Regions from separate parts of the Homo sapiens genome. Here region 2 is linked to region 1. Evidence: promoter capture Hi-C in 16 types of primary human blood cells and fetal thymus (Javierre and others, 2016). All regions are on one chromosome and are shown on one strand. Each heading gives the region's core, a stretch centred on a gene start or on the middle of the fragment in contact. The rest is flanking DNA. Distances are from core to core; before and after follow the strand shown.

Region 1 (6,023 bases), core at 3,489-5,988:
AGTTAGCGGAGATCACACTATTGCACTCCAGCCTGGGCGACAGAGCAAGACTCCATCTCAAAAAAAAGAAAAAATTAGCCGGGAGTGGTGGCAGGCACCTGTAATCCGAGCTACTCGGGAGGCTGAGGCAGAAGAATCACTTGAACCTGGGAGGTGGAGGTTGCAGTGAGCCGAGACTGAGCCACTGCATTCCAGCCTGGGAGACAAGAGTGAGACTCTGTCTCCAAAATAAATAAATAAAAAAAATAAAATATAGCTGTTAACTGGATGTGGTAGCTGATGCCTGTAATTCCAGTACTTTGGGAGGCCGGGGAGGGAGGATCACTTGAGGCTTGGAGTTTGGGACCAGCCTGGGCAGCAAAAAATTTAAAAACAACTAGCCCCACACTGTGGTGGCACACCTGTAGTCACAGCCACACAGGAGGCTGAGGCAGGAGGACAGCTTTAGCCTAGAAGCTTGAGGCTCCAGTGAGCTATGATGGTACCGCCGGGTACTCCAGCCTGGGAGATGGAATGAGGCCTCATGTACTTAAAAACATGAATAAAATGTATCTGCTTTTCTTAAGCATTCTATATATTTCAGGCAGTGTGCAAGGTTTGAATTCCAAGTGTTCCACAAATTGGGGATTATTCCTGGTGAGGCCAGATATTCTAGAGCAACTAAAAGCAGGAATGATCTTTCTAGAAGCAGTGAGATCTAGCCTGTAAGCTTAGATGTAAGAGAGGTTTCTCAGACAGGGTTTCAAGATGGTATTCTCTTTACGTGTTTTAATAACCTTTTATTTATTTATTTATTTATTTATTTATTTATTTCTTTATTTATTTATTTTGAGATAGGGTCTGTCACCCAGGCCTGAATGCAGTGGCATGATCCCCGCTCACTGCAAGCCTCAACCTCCTGGGCTCAAGCAATCCTCCTGCCTCAGCCTCCCAAGTAGCTGGGATTATAGGCATGCACCAATGCACAGGGCTAATTTTTAAAATTTTTTTGTATAGATGGGGCCTTGCTTTGTTGCCCACGCTGGTCTCAAGCATCCTCCTGACTCAGCCTCTCAAAGTCCTGGGATTATAGGCTTGAGCAACTACATCTGGCCTCTATATCCTTTTAAATACTGGCTTGGGGAATTGAAAGTTTTTGATGCTAATCCAGTAGAAGTCAACCAACAGAATTTTTTGGATGTTCATTTACTAAATATGGCAACTTTAAATAAAACTTGATGTGGGGAAAATAAAAATTTATAAAGGCACTAAATCGAGAGTTTATTATTTTTGTTATGAAAGGAATCCCTTACATCAAAGACTTAGAACAATGGACCTTTAAGTAATATATCCCTTAGAAGTAGGAGTCCTCATGACATTTTGGGCTGGATAAAAAAAGAAAAAAAAAAAGAAGCAGGGATCCTTGGCCAGGCGCGGTGGCTAACGCCTGTAATCCCAGCACACTGGGAGGCCGAGGCAGGCAGATCACCTGAAAAAATTGTTCTCAATCAGGTAGACAGTAGAATGATAGTTATCAGAGGCTGGGAAGAGTATGTGTGTGGTGGGGGTGGGGACAAAAAGAGGATGGTTAATGGGTACAAATATAAAGTTGGATAAAAGGAGTAAGTTCTAATGTTTGATAATAGAGTAGAATGACTATAGTTAACATCATATTGCATTATTTCAAAATAGCTAGAAGGGAAGACTTGAAATACTACCCACACAGAAGTCATAAATGTTCTAGATGATGGTTATCCTAAATACCTTGACTTGATCATTACACATTCTATGTATGTAACAAAATATCCCATGTATCCCATAAATATATACAAATATTATGTATCAATAAAAAATTATATGATTTGCAAAAAGCAAATGTAACCACATCTTTTCAATGTCCCACCATTTATGCAAAGTAAAGGATATCTCTACAACTACCCTTGCCAAAGAGAAGCTTTTTAGAAGATTAGGTTGTGGGATGAATAAAAGAGGGGAAAACAAGAACTTTGAAATTCAATATCTGAAAGAGCATTCTAAGCTATCAGGTGGAAGAAATGCTCAAAACATAAGAGTAAAGGGTTGAATGACCATGGGTAAATAACAGACAAGTTTATAAAATAAAAGGGGGAAAATTGGTTAATAGTCAATAAGATGCTAACTTAGAGAAGAAGCCAAGTTTAAAAATGAAAACTAAGGTGAGTGGTGAGGGCAAGTGGTGAACAAAGATATTTAGATACAGAAAGGTATGTCAGAGTCACTCATAAAGGATAAAAAGTAGCAAGGGAAGGTCAAGTGGGGGAACTCTGTGGATAAAAGGCAAGCACGGTGTCTAGATTGTCTGGAACAGTTTTGACTTCAAACACTTGCCTGTCAAATCACTTTGTGACGATTTTTAGTTAAGAAACTATGGTCATTTTCCATGACCATGTTTTACCTATTCACATCCATAATTCCTAGCAAAATGTCTTTTTTTTTTTTTTGAGATGGAGTTTCACTCTGTTGCCCAGGCTGGAGTGCAGTGGCATGATCTTGGCTCACTGCAACTTCTGCCTCCTGGGTTCAAGTGATTCTTCTGCCTCAGCCTCCCAAGTAGCAGGGACTACAGGCGCCTGCCACCACGCCCGGCTAATTTTTTGTACTTTTAGTAGAGACAGGGTTTCACTGTGTTAGCCAGGATGGTCTCGATCTCCTGACCTCGTGATCCACCCACCTTGGCCTCCCAAAGTGCTGGGATTACAGGCATGAGCCACGGCGCCCGGCTGCAAAATGTCTGCAGCATAGCAAAATCTCAATAATTATTTATCACTCATGATAATTACCTGAATACTAAAATCAGAGAGAGTACATTAAAAAGAAACACAACGAACCATTCTTAAATAATAAAAACATATTCATCAGTGGTCTTTATTTACTAGCACCAATAAAAAACTAGAAGCTCTGTTTAGCATAGGAAATTGGTGTCATACTCACTTTATAATATCATCAGTGCTGGGTGGGGACAAAGCCATAATCTGCCAAAATCTGCACCATCCTTGCCAGGTTTGGGAGTTCTGTAGAGTAGTTACCACTGCCAGGTCTGACTGCCATAGCTCAGGAAAAGGGTGCAGTCATTTCTCTTAGCATAATCTTGAGAAGATGTCTAAGAGACCTATGTAATATTAAGTCACAGAAAGAAACAATATTATTGGTGGTTTAGACATGGAATGTAATAGCTAACAATTACGGAATGCTTACTTGTTTCAGGAACTGACGTGTTATCTCATCTAAACAATGCTACAGAGCATGGGTACTGTTATTAACCCCGTTTTACAGGAAACCTAGGTTTAGCAAGGTTAAGGAATTGCTTGAGATAACAAAGGTAGTAAGAGGCAGGGGTGGAATTTGAAGCCATATAGTCTGGTTCTTCAGGGTGTATACATCCGTGTATCTATAACCACAATGCTGCAGGGGCACTCGAACAGGCTGGAAAAGAATTATTTTTCTTTAAAGGGCAAATTAATTTCCTCAAAAGTAATCTCTGTTCACTTTATCCCATACCAGATGCTTATTTTCATTTCATATCCTAAAAGTTAGATTGGCACTTACATGCCAACTTAAAATACCTTTAAGTCTTTAAAATTTATAGTATTTTAGAATTTATCATAGTGAAACATGTACAGTCTGTTAGTCCCCAAGACAATAAAATAAGGATGATAGTGACTGATACTCCATTCCCTTCCGATGTAATGACAAACACGTAGAAACACTGTGTTTCATTTATTGGAATTATTTGGATCCAAAGGATTGCTTTTAATACCTTAACAAAATAGGTCATTAAAAAAAATCAAGTGCCTTTCAGTATTCTTCCAAGTTTCAATAACTGATCTTTTCCATTAAAAAACTTTTGATTCATTATTCCAAATCAACATATCATCTAAATATTTACACATAGTTAGATGTAGCTTTTCCCTAACCTACTCCCTTTTATTTATTAGTACTCATTTACATCTTAGTTTGCCACATTTACAGTTCTTTGAAAGTTTCATCTAATATTCACCAGACCATTCACCTCACAATTTTCCTCCCTCTTTCTAAATAGGTGAATTTGTTTACTGCAAAATCGATGGCTACGCTATTAAAGGTTACTATCACGATTTTAAAAGACATGATCACCATCATTTACCAAGATTCTTACCACAAGGAAATGATCACAAGGTTGGACAAACAGGCTCCAACTCTTAAGGGAAAGGGCTTGCAGTTAGATCACACAGGGCGGGCAGGGAAGCAAGCGGGGAGGGGTAGGTCGGAAAAGGCAGTGCTTGATTCAATTCAACATTCACTGCGCCACTTACCAAGAGCCAGAAAAAGAAAAAAAAAAAAAAAAAAAGCCAACCAGCTGGGCGTTATTTCGAGCACGGGGCCCTGCAGGTGGGCCTGTGGGCGGGGACCCGGCGCCCGGGAGGGAAGGGGCTGGCTCAGAGACTATAGACGGGCGGGGACCGCCCCGGCCCGGGCCTCCAGCGCCCGGCGCCCGCACACTCGCCAGCCCAGCTGCCGGCACGCCGGCCAGCCAGCCGCTGCCGCTTACCAGTGGCGCCTCGCTGACTCCCCGGGGGCAGCTCTTCAACGGTTCCCGCAGTCAGAGCACCACCCCGCGGTGGGGTACCTCCAGCCCGCCCGCAGCTCTCGGTCCCCGCCGCGCCGCCACTCTCGCGAGAAGCCAGGAAGTCCGCGAAGTGGGGGGAGGAGGAGCAGGGAGGGGCACTTAACGGTGGTGGCTGGTTCTGCGCCGGATCCGGGAGAGGGGCGGGCGCCATTGTGCTTCGCTGCCGACTGCATTTCCTCAGTCACGGGCCTAGAACTCCAAGGAGAAAGGCGGCGGTGCGTGTTGCTGCGAGTGGGACGCGCACTGGTCGGTGCCGGCTCAGGAGCCGGGGTAATGAGCTGCGGAGCTAGTTCTTCTCCGTCTTGGGCGCTAGTTCGGGACCAGGCCGCGAGTGGGGGAGGGGAGGAAACGAAGAGGCCTGGGGACGCGGAGGCCGCTTCCTCTCAGGATGAGGTGGAGAAGCTTGGTCCGGGGCCACCGGGGCCAAGGGGCCACAGCGCAGGCCTCCCTTGCCAGGGGCCTTTGGTCGGGTGGTGGAGTTTGTGGCGGGTGCAGGGGACAGATTGTGTGTCTTCCTCAGGGACGTGTGGCGGGTGACGGGAAGAAGCCTGAGCCCTCCTTTGGCGCGGGGCGGCCTCCTCTTGGGCCGTGGGGCGGGGGGTCTTCGGAGCCCTGCGGGCCGCGGGTGTCGCGCGTGAGCTCGCCGGTGAGCGCGGGGCAAAGGCGGGCAGGGCTCCGGCTCGGCCAGCCCGGCCTCGAGTCGAAGTGACTTCGGTAGCCCCTTAGATTCGGCCAAGATTGTCTTATTGGTAACGTCAGTTTTTGAATATCGTGACGCCCTGAGAGTTATTTTTGTGTTGTGGTGAATTGTGGGTTCTGCAACTCGAAGTAGGTGATTGTATTAAAAATGGACCTGTTGGCCTAAGAAGTAAAAATATAGAAGGCGCCGGGAGTAGGAAACTCCCTCATTTTGGTGAAACTGCGTATTGAAGATGTGTGTCCACCCCCTCACCCCAAAATGCTGCACTTAATACTTTTTCTCAAGTACCAAAGTAAATATATTGGGAAAGTCTATCTGGGTAATAAATTCGTCACGACTAATGTTGTTTGTTACTATTAGTTAAATGTGTGAAAACTGAAATTTGGCGAGGTTTTCTCCCCCATTTTGTAGGATTGATTAGCTATTTTTCTGATTACATGTTATTTTAAATCTCCACCTTTCTGTCCAGAACCAAGATGTAGGATTAAAGATGAATTTTCGATTTAAAAATCCAATAGTATACAGTTATTAAGAAGGCACACATGTAGTGTAACTAGATCTTTTACTTGAGGTAGCAAAAAGTTTGTTTGAGAAATGAGGTCAGTATAATATTTTTATTTAACAGCTCTACAGCATTTTGGGAGACAGGACTGGTGCATGAGGCAGTAGCACCAGACTCAGAAGACCTGGGTTTGAGTC
Region 2 (6,417 bases), core at 2,330-4,829, 520 kb before region 1:
ACAGGAATGAATGTCATTTTGAACAATAATTGCAGTTTGCCACTTTGGTAAATTAAAGTGACTTGCTCTGGGATGATTACTTGGTAGATGGATTTTAGTTGCAGTGGCATGCCAGCAGTCTCTAACCATGTTGTCTCCTGTGGCCAGGCCAGGATGGGGCCAGCCTGGGCCCCGCTGGCCCACTGGAGTCCCATCCAGCCAGTGGTTTTGTTGTACCATCTCATAGGACTGGTGGCCAGCCGCAAGCTGTGGCCTCAGGAGGATTTAGGTTGCAGTTCTTTTCTCAGCTGACAACAGAAAGGAGAGGAGAACAGGAGCTAGGTGTGGCCTTTGGCCCAACTTCCCTTGGCCGGGAGATCCAGTCATATCCTACATCATAGTCAGGAAGGACACATTTTAAAACAATTGTGCTTGTGTGAGCTTCCAGTGTACTTAGTGGGAATGCTGATGCTGCCCTATGGCCACCCTGGCCAAGCCTCTTCTGGTCCTCATGATCGTATTGCCTCGCATATCCCCAGCTCCCTTCCTGTTTTCCTGTTTTCATTAAATCCAGAAGTTGAGAGATACCACCACTTCTGAGTGTTGTCCAAGGAGGGCTTCTGTGATCATGGTCGGAAAATTTCCATATCGTTGGGGGAAAATCTATAGGATGAATCATTTAAACAGGTTCCTTCAGCACAGTGCCGTCTCAGCCAAGACTGCTGCTCTGCCACCTGGCTGCTCTGTGACCATCATTAGCTTTGTGCTTAGCGCTCAGCTCGGCCTTACTCCCTCTGAGCCTTGGCTTTCTCACCTATAAAGTGGAGACACAAAAGAGGCTGTCTCTCAAGTGATGAGAAACCTTACTGAGATGTTAAAGGTACTGGGAACATACTTGGCATTTATTATGTTTACATGAATTGTTGTTAGTGCTTTGCCTCATCTCTGGAAACAGTGGCTCTGCTGTAGGCACCTGGGAAGTTTTGGATGTGCCAGTTGGTGCTTGTTAACAGGAGCTGCCGACCTTGAGGATGTGATGGTTGCAGGTGACTTACCTCTGCCCTCATCTCGGCATGAGGTGTCCCTGCTGCTCTGTGCTGGTGAACAGCCCAGGCTGGGCATGCAGGGTGATGTGGACAGGAGGGCAGAGCTCCCTCCTGTGCCTTCCAGAGGTCAGGGACCTGAGTTCTTGTCGTTTCTGAAGACTCCATGAAAGGTTGATTATAACATCGATTAATGTTTATTTAACATGTACAGATGCTGAGTGCTGTGCTAAATGCTTAATGCACATATATATACATACACTTTTTTTTTTACACATTGATTTTTAATCTTTACAACCACCAAGTGAAGTGAAACTTTTATCCTCATTTTTTTAGATGAGAAAACTGAGGTTTAGGGCAGTTGATACTTTCCAAAATCACACAGCTGGAAGGGCGCCTGACACTCAGCAAGCCCTTGCTCTGCAGGTGCCTTTATCACTTGATGTGTTTACAGCCCTGGCTGCCAGCTAAAATCACCTGGGAGCTCTGGGCACCACAGCCCCAGCCCCAGTTAAGTCAGAATCTCCAAGAGTGGGGCCAGGGTATTGGAAACTTTCAAGCTCCCAGGTGGTTTCAGTGTGCATCAAGGTTAAGAACCATAGTTTAGGGGAAGGTGATGGAGGGTTAAGTGGTAAAAATACGTACAGCATTACACCGACAAAGGAAAATGTTATTCCCAGAAGCAGAGGAAGTGTGAATTGATGACATCTTTAGGAAACCTCTGCCCTGAGCACATGCCTTCCAGGTAAACTCTTGTAAGGGATTCATCATGGTACTCCAAGTATACCTTCCACCATTATTAGCAAAAGAGTACCTGTTAGATAGAATGGGATGGCATGCTGCTGTTTTCTTAGGTGGCACCTAAAGCACAGAGAGGTTGAGGAATTTTCTGAAAATCACACAGTAGGTTAGTTTGGGGGCTGGCTGAGAACTCACACCACTTAATCCTTCATTTTTTAGGCCCATGGATCTCAAGAAGGTATGGGGTTGATGGGGGAGGACAGAATGTAACTGGCTGGCAAAATTATCCAGGGAATTTACAAATGATCCTGCCCATCCTGTGGCTAGCAGAGTCTGGTGTGCCCCTTGGTGGCATTGCGTGTATTTCCAGATGTGTATCTTCTCTACTCCTCTTGCTGAGGACTGGTTTCATTGGCCTTAATAAAATCCTATTTCTTCAGCATAATCTGATTCTGTCCACGCTGTTACTCAAAGGGATTTTTAAAACACTTTTATTATTTTATTTTTATTTTTATTTATTATTATTATTTTGAGATGGAGTTTTGCTCTTGTTGCCCAGGCTGGAGTGCAATGGCGTGATCTTGGCTCACTGCAACCTCCGCCTCCTGGGTTCAAGTGATTCTCCTGCCTCAGCCTCCCGAGTAGCCGGGATTACAGGCGTGTGCCACCGCAACCAGCTAATTTTTGTATTTTTAGTAGAGACTCAGTTTCACCATATTGGCCAGGCTGGTCTCAAACTCCTGACCTCAGGTGATCCACCCACCTCGGCCTCCCAAAGTGTTGGGATTACAGGCGTGAGCCACCATGCCCAGCCACACCTTTATTAATGTTGTAGCATAATGCAGTCTTAAAATGCTTTTGAATTAGATCAGAGTCTGGTGGCATTTTTAAAAAGCAAGCCTATATAGATCTGTAGAGCAGGCTTGGTGGGGATTAATTAAGTCATTTGCCTGAAGTTGCCCATGAAACAGCAGTGTTAGGACTGGACACCCTTTCTGATCTCTCATCCATTCCTCCACAAGTACAAGTTGACAGCGAGACCCTAGAGGCTGGGTTGGTGTTCACCTGGATCTGGCTAGACAGTGGTCTCTCTGATGGTGTAGACAGCGGGGTGGTGGTCAGGTGGTTGGCTGGCTCCTTGTCACTTGCACATGGCCTGTTCTTCCTTAAATGTAGATGGCAGTCCCAGCAGTGTGAAGAAACTGATGTGTGGGTCATCCCCATCCATGGAGGGGCTCTGTTTGCCTTTCTTCTCTGTGAACTTCTGTATCGTAGAACCAGTGTCTGGTGCAGTGGACTAAGCAGGAAAACAGAGCATGCTGAGGGATAGAGAGGGCCTGGGTGCACAGGGTACCCTCTCCCCCATGTCCTGGCACTGGAGCAGAGCCCTGCAGGAAGTGATTATATTTATGGAATGAGCATTCCAGTCAGGGAACTAAAAGGGGGTAAAGACCATGAGGCCGGCCCTGCTTGGCATTGTCACAGCACGTGTTGGGTCCAAGGTGGCTGCAGTGAGGGAAGGATTCTGCAGAGAAGATCAGAGAGGAAGCTGGAGGCCTGTATCACAGAGGTTCAAGCTTCAGCAGCCAAGACATCTTCAAATTTGACACCTGGGGTTCTAACCTGTCACTATGCCATTGTGAGTTATGGTTTCACTACTTGGTAGTATAATTTTCCAGACCCATTTGTTTGTAAATATTCTGTTTGTCAGCTACTCTTGTGGACATCTATCACTGAAATACCATGAAGTTTTTATGCCTTGTCATCTCTCTGTATCTTTTAATGATCCCCATGTGTCTCTAGTCAATAAATGATAGTCTCTGTGGTTTTCACATTTAGTGGGCAGGTGGAGGACCTGCCAGGCTTTGGCAGGGGCAGTGATTGATGTGGGTCAGGACCATTGAAGTAAGCCATTGAAAGAAACACACTGGGCATCTTAATAGCTGTTAAAGGAGCATCATTTGTATCTAATGATCTGAAGATCTGAAAAAAAAAATATTATTATACCTAAAATTTGCGTATGTTCAGTAATTTTATTTTAAAACCTGTAGATAAAAAGCTTTTCCCAATACCTAGATCCAGGGAGATTACTAAGTGGGGGATATAGTAATTAGTGGAAGCAGCACATTATTTTCTAGCAGTATTATGCTGCGGACAATCATGGCACATGTGGACATTTCCATATTTTCTGTTTCTTTTAGGAACACATCCCTATAAAGTATTTGTATTTACTTTTGGCCTTATCTCACTATTAACACCATGACTATTTTTTTCTTTTTAAAAACATTTTTTATAGAGACGGGGTCTTGCCATGTTGCCCATGTTGGTCTCAAACTCCTGGGCTCAAGCAGTCCTCCCTCCTCAGCCTCCTAACATACTGGGATTACAGTTGTGAGCCACTGCACCCAGCCACAATTATTACTTCATTACCAGGAAAATGAATTTCCTGGTTTTGTTGAGGTTAAACAGTGATTTTTCAAAGTGTGGTTCCCCAAACCAAGAGTGTCAATATCAACGAGGAACTTATTAAAAATGTACCACCCAGATATAATGAATCAGAAATCAGGGGGTGGGGCCCAAGAATTTGCAGTTGTTTAGGTTTTTTTTGTTTTTGTTTTTGTTTTGCTTTTGAGACGGAGTCTTGCTCTGTCCCCCAGGCTGGAGTGCAGTGACGTAATCTTGGCTCATTGCAGCCTCCACCTCCTGCGTTCAAGCGATTCTCCTGCATCAGTCTCCTGAGTGGCTGGGATTACAGGCGTGCGCCACCACGCTGGCTAATTTTTGTATTTTTAGTAGACACGGGGTTTTCACCCTGTTCTTCAGGCTGGTCTCGAACTCCTAACTGCAGGTGATCCGCCCGCCTCAGCCTCCCAAAGTGGTGGGATTACAGGCATGAGCCACCTTGCCTGGCTATTTGTTTAGTTTTTATTTTTAATTATGGTTAAGAAACACATAAAAGGAAATTTACCATCTTAACCATTTTTAAGTCTGCAATTCAGTAGTGTTAACAATATTCACATTGTTGTGCGATAGATGTCCAGTACTTTTCATGTTGCAGAATCAAAACTCTATATCCCTTAAGCAACAACTCTCATTTCCCCTGTGCCCAGGCCCAGAAACCTTCATTCTACTGTCTGTGAATTTGATTACTGTATATATCTCATAAGTAGTTTCACTCAGTATTTGTTCTTTTGCGTCTGGCTTGCTTCACTTATTTCACTTCCCCGAGGTTTACCCATGTTGTCACATATGGCAGGATTTTCTCCCTTTTTAAGCAGGAATAATCCATTGTATGTATATGTACCACATTTTCTTCATCCATCCACTGATGAACACTGAGGTTGCATCTACCTGTTGGCTGTTGTGAATAATGCTGCAATTAACATGAGGGTACAAATATGTCTTTGAGATCCTGCTTTCAATTCTTTTGAATATGTACCCAGAAGTGGGATGACTGATCACATGGCCGTTCTATTGTTATTTTTTGTTGTTTTGTTTTTGTTTTTGAGACTGAGTCTCACTCTGTCGCCAGGCTGGAGTGCAGTGGTGCAATCTCAGCTCACTGCAACCTCCACCTCCCGGGTTCAAGCGATTCTCCTGCCTCAGCCTCCCAAGTAGCTGAGATACAGGCACACACCACCACGCCCAGCTAATTTTTGTATTTTTAGTAGAGACGGGGTTTCACCATGTTGGCCAGATGGTCTCGATCTCTTGACCTCGTGATCCACCCGCCATGGCCTCTCAAAGTGCTGGAATTACAGGCGTGAGCCACCGCACCTGGCCTCTACTGACATTTTTAATTAAAAATTTTTTTTTTTTTAATTTTCACATCAGGGCCTTGCTGTGTTGCCCAGGCTAGAGTGCAGCAGGCTGTTCACAGGCATGATCATAGTGCACTACAGCCTCAAACTCCTGGCCCCAAGCAATCCTCCCACCTCAGCTTCCTGAGTAGCTGGGATTACAGTCACGTGCCTGGGGCAGTAGTTCTATTTTTAATATTTTGAGGAACCATCTTACTGTTTCCCAGTAAGCTACACTATTTTACATTCCCACCAATGAGAATGTGCATTGTTAATATATTCCCAGGTGATACTGGTGCACATTCAAGTTTGAGAACCACTGGATTAAAATGATACCGAAAATTGAGGATACTGCCCATTTCCAGAAATGTTTAGATGACATACATGTGACAATCTTGTTGGGGGGCCTTGTCCAACAGGTGAGCCGTCTCCTGATTTTGGGAGGGGCCAACGTGAACTACAGGACAGAAGTGTTAAATAATGCCCCAATCCTGTGCGTCCAGTCTCACCTTGGCCACGAGGAAGTTGTCACTCTGCTCCTGGAATTTGGTGCCTGCCTGGACGGAACGTCAGAGAACGGCATGACTGCCCTCTGTTACGCAGCAGCTGCTGGCCACATGAAGCTGGTGTGTCTGCTGACCAAGAAGGGAGTGAGAGTAAGCGGCAGCCTGCTCTTTTGGGGCTGGGGCAGGGAAATGGCTTCATCTCATTGCTAGAATTGTTATTTGCTGGGCCAGACTCTCTTGTCTCTGAAACCACAGCATACACAGAAAGGGTCGGGCTCCAGGGATTGGTCACTTTGTAATGTGGCAGCCTCAGAGAGGTTTGTTTTGCTCATACACAGCAACTCTGCT

Evidence for each region. The method cuts DNA at HindIII sites, captures the fragments that hold promoters and counts their contacts. A CHiCAGO score of 5 or more calls a contact.
Region 2: a fragment that was not itself captured here is called in contact with the fragment with the promoter of MARCHF7 in region 1 in 1 of 17 cell types (megakaryocytes); the score reaches 6.0 in megakaryocytes.

Annotation. Positions count from the first base shown.
Region 1 is chr2:159,707,768-159,713,790 of GRCh38, forward strand. MARCHF7 (membrane associated ring-CH-type finger 7) reads left to right here and starts at 4,739. Exons shown (of 12, transcript NM_001282805.2): 1 at 4,739-4,839. It also overlaps a transcript of BAZ2B not described here. RefSeq lists silencers at 4,188-4,697, 5,218-5,337 and enhancers at 4,314-4,980, 4,748-5,027. The HindIII fragment of the contact is 3,093 bases long and covers 1,932-5,024 here.
Region 2 is chr2:159,188,275-159,194,691 of GRCh38, forward strand. TANC1 (tetratricopeptide repeat, ankyrin repeat and coiled-coil containing 1) reads left to right here. Exons shown (of 27, transcript NM_033394.3): 17 at 5,983-6,219. Among named protein-coding and RNA genes, the nearest start is that of MIR6888, 4.6 kb to the left of the region's middle. The HindIII fragment of the contact is 482 bases long and covers 3,339-3,820 here.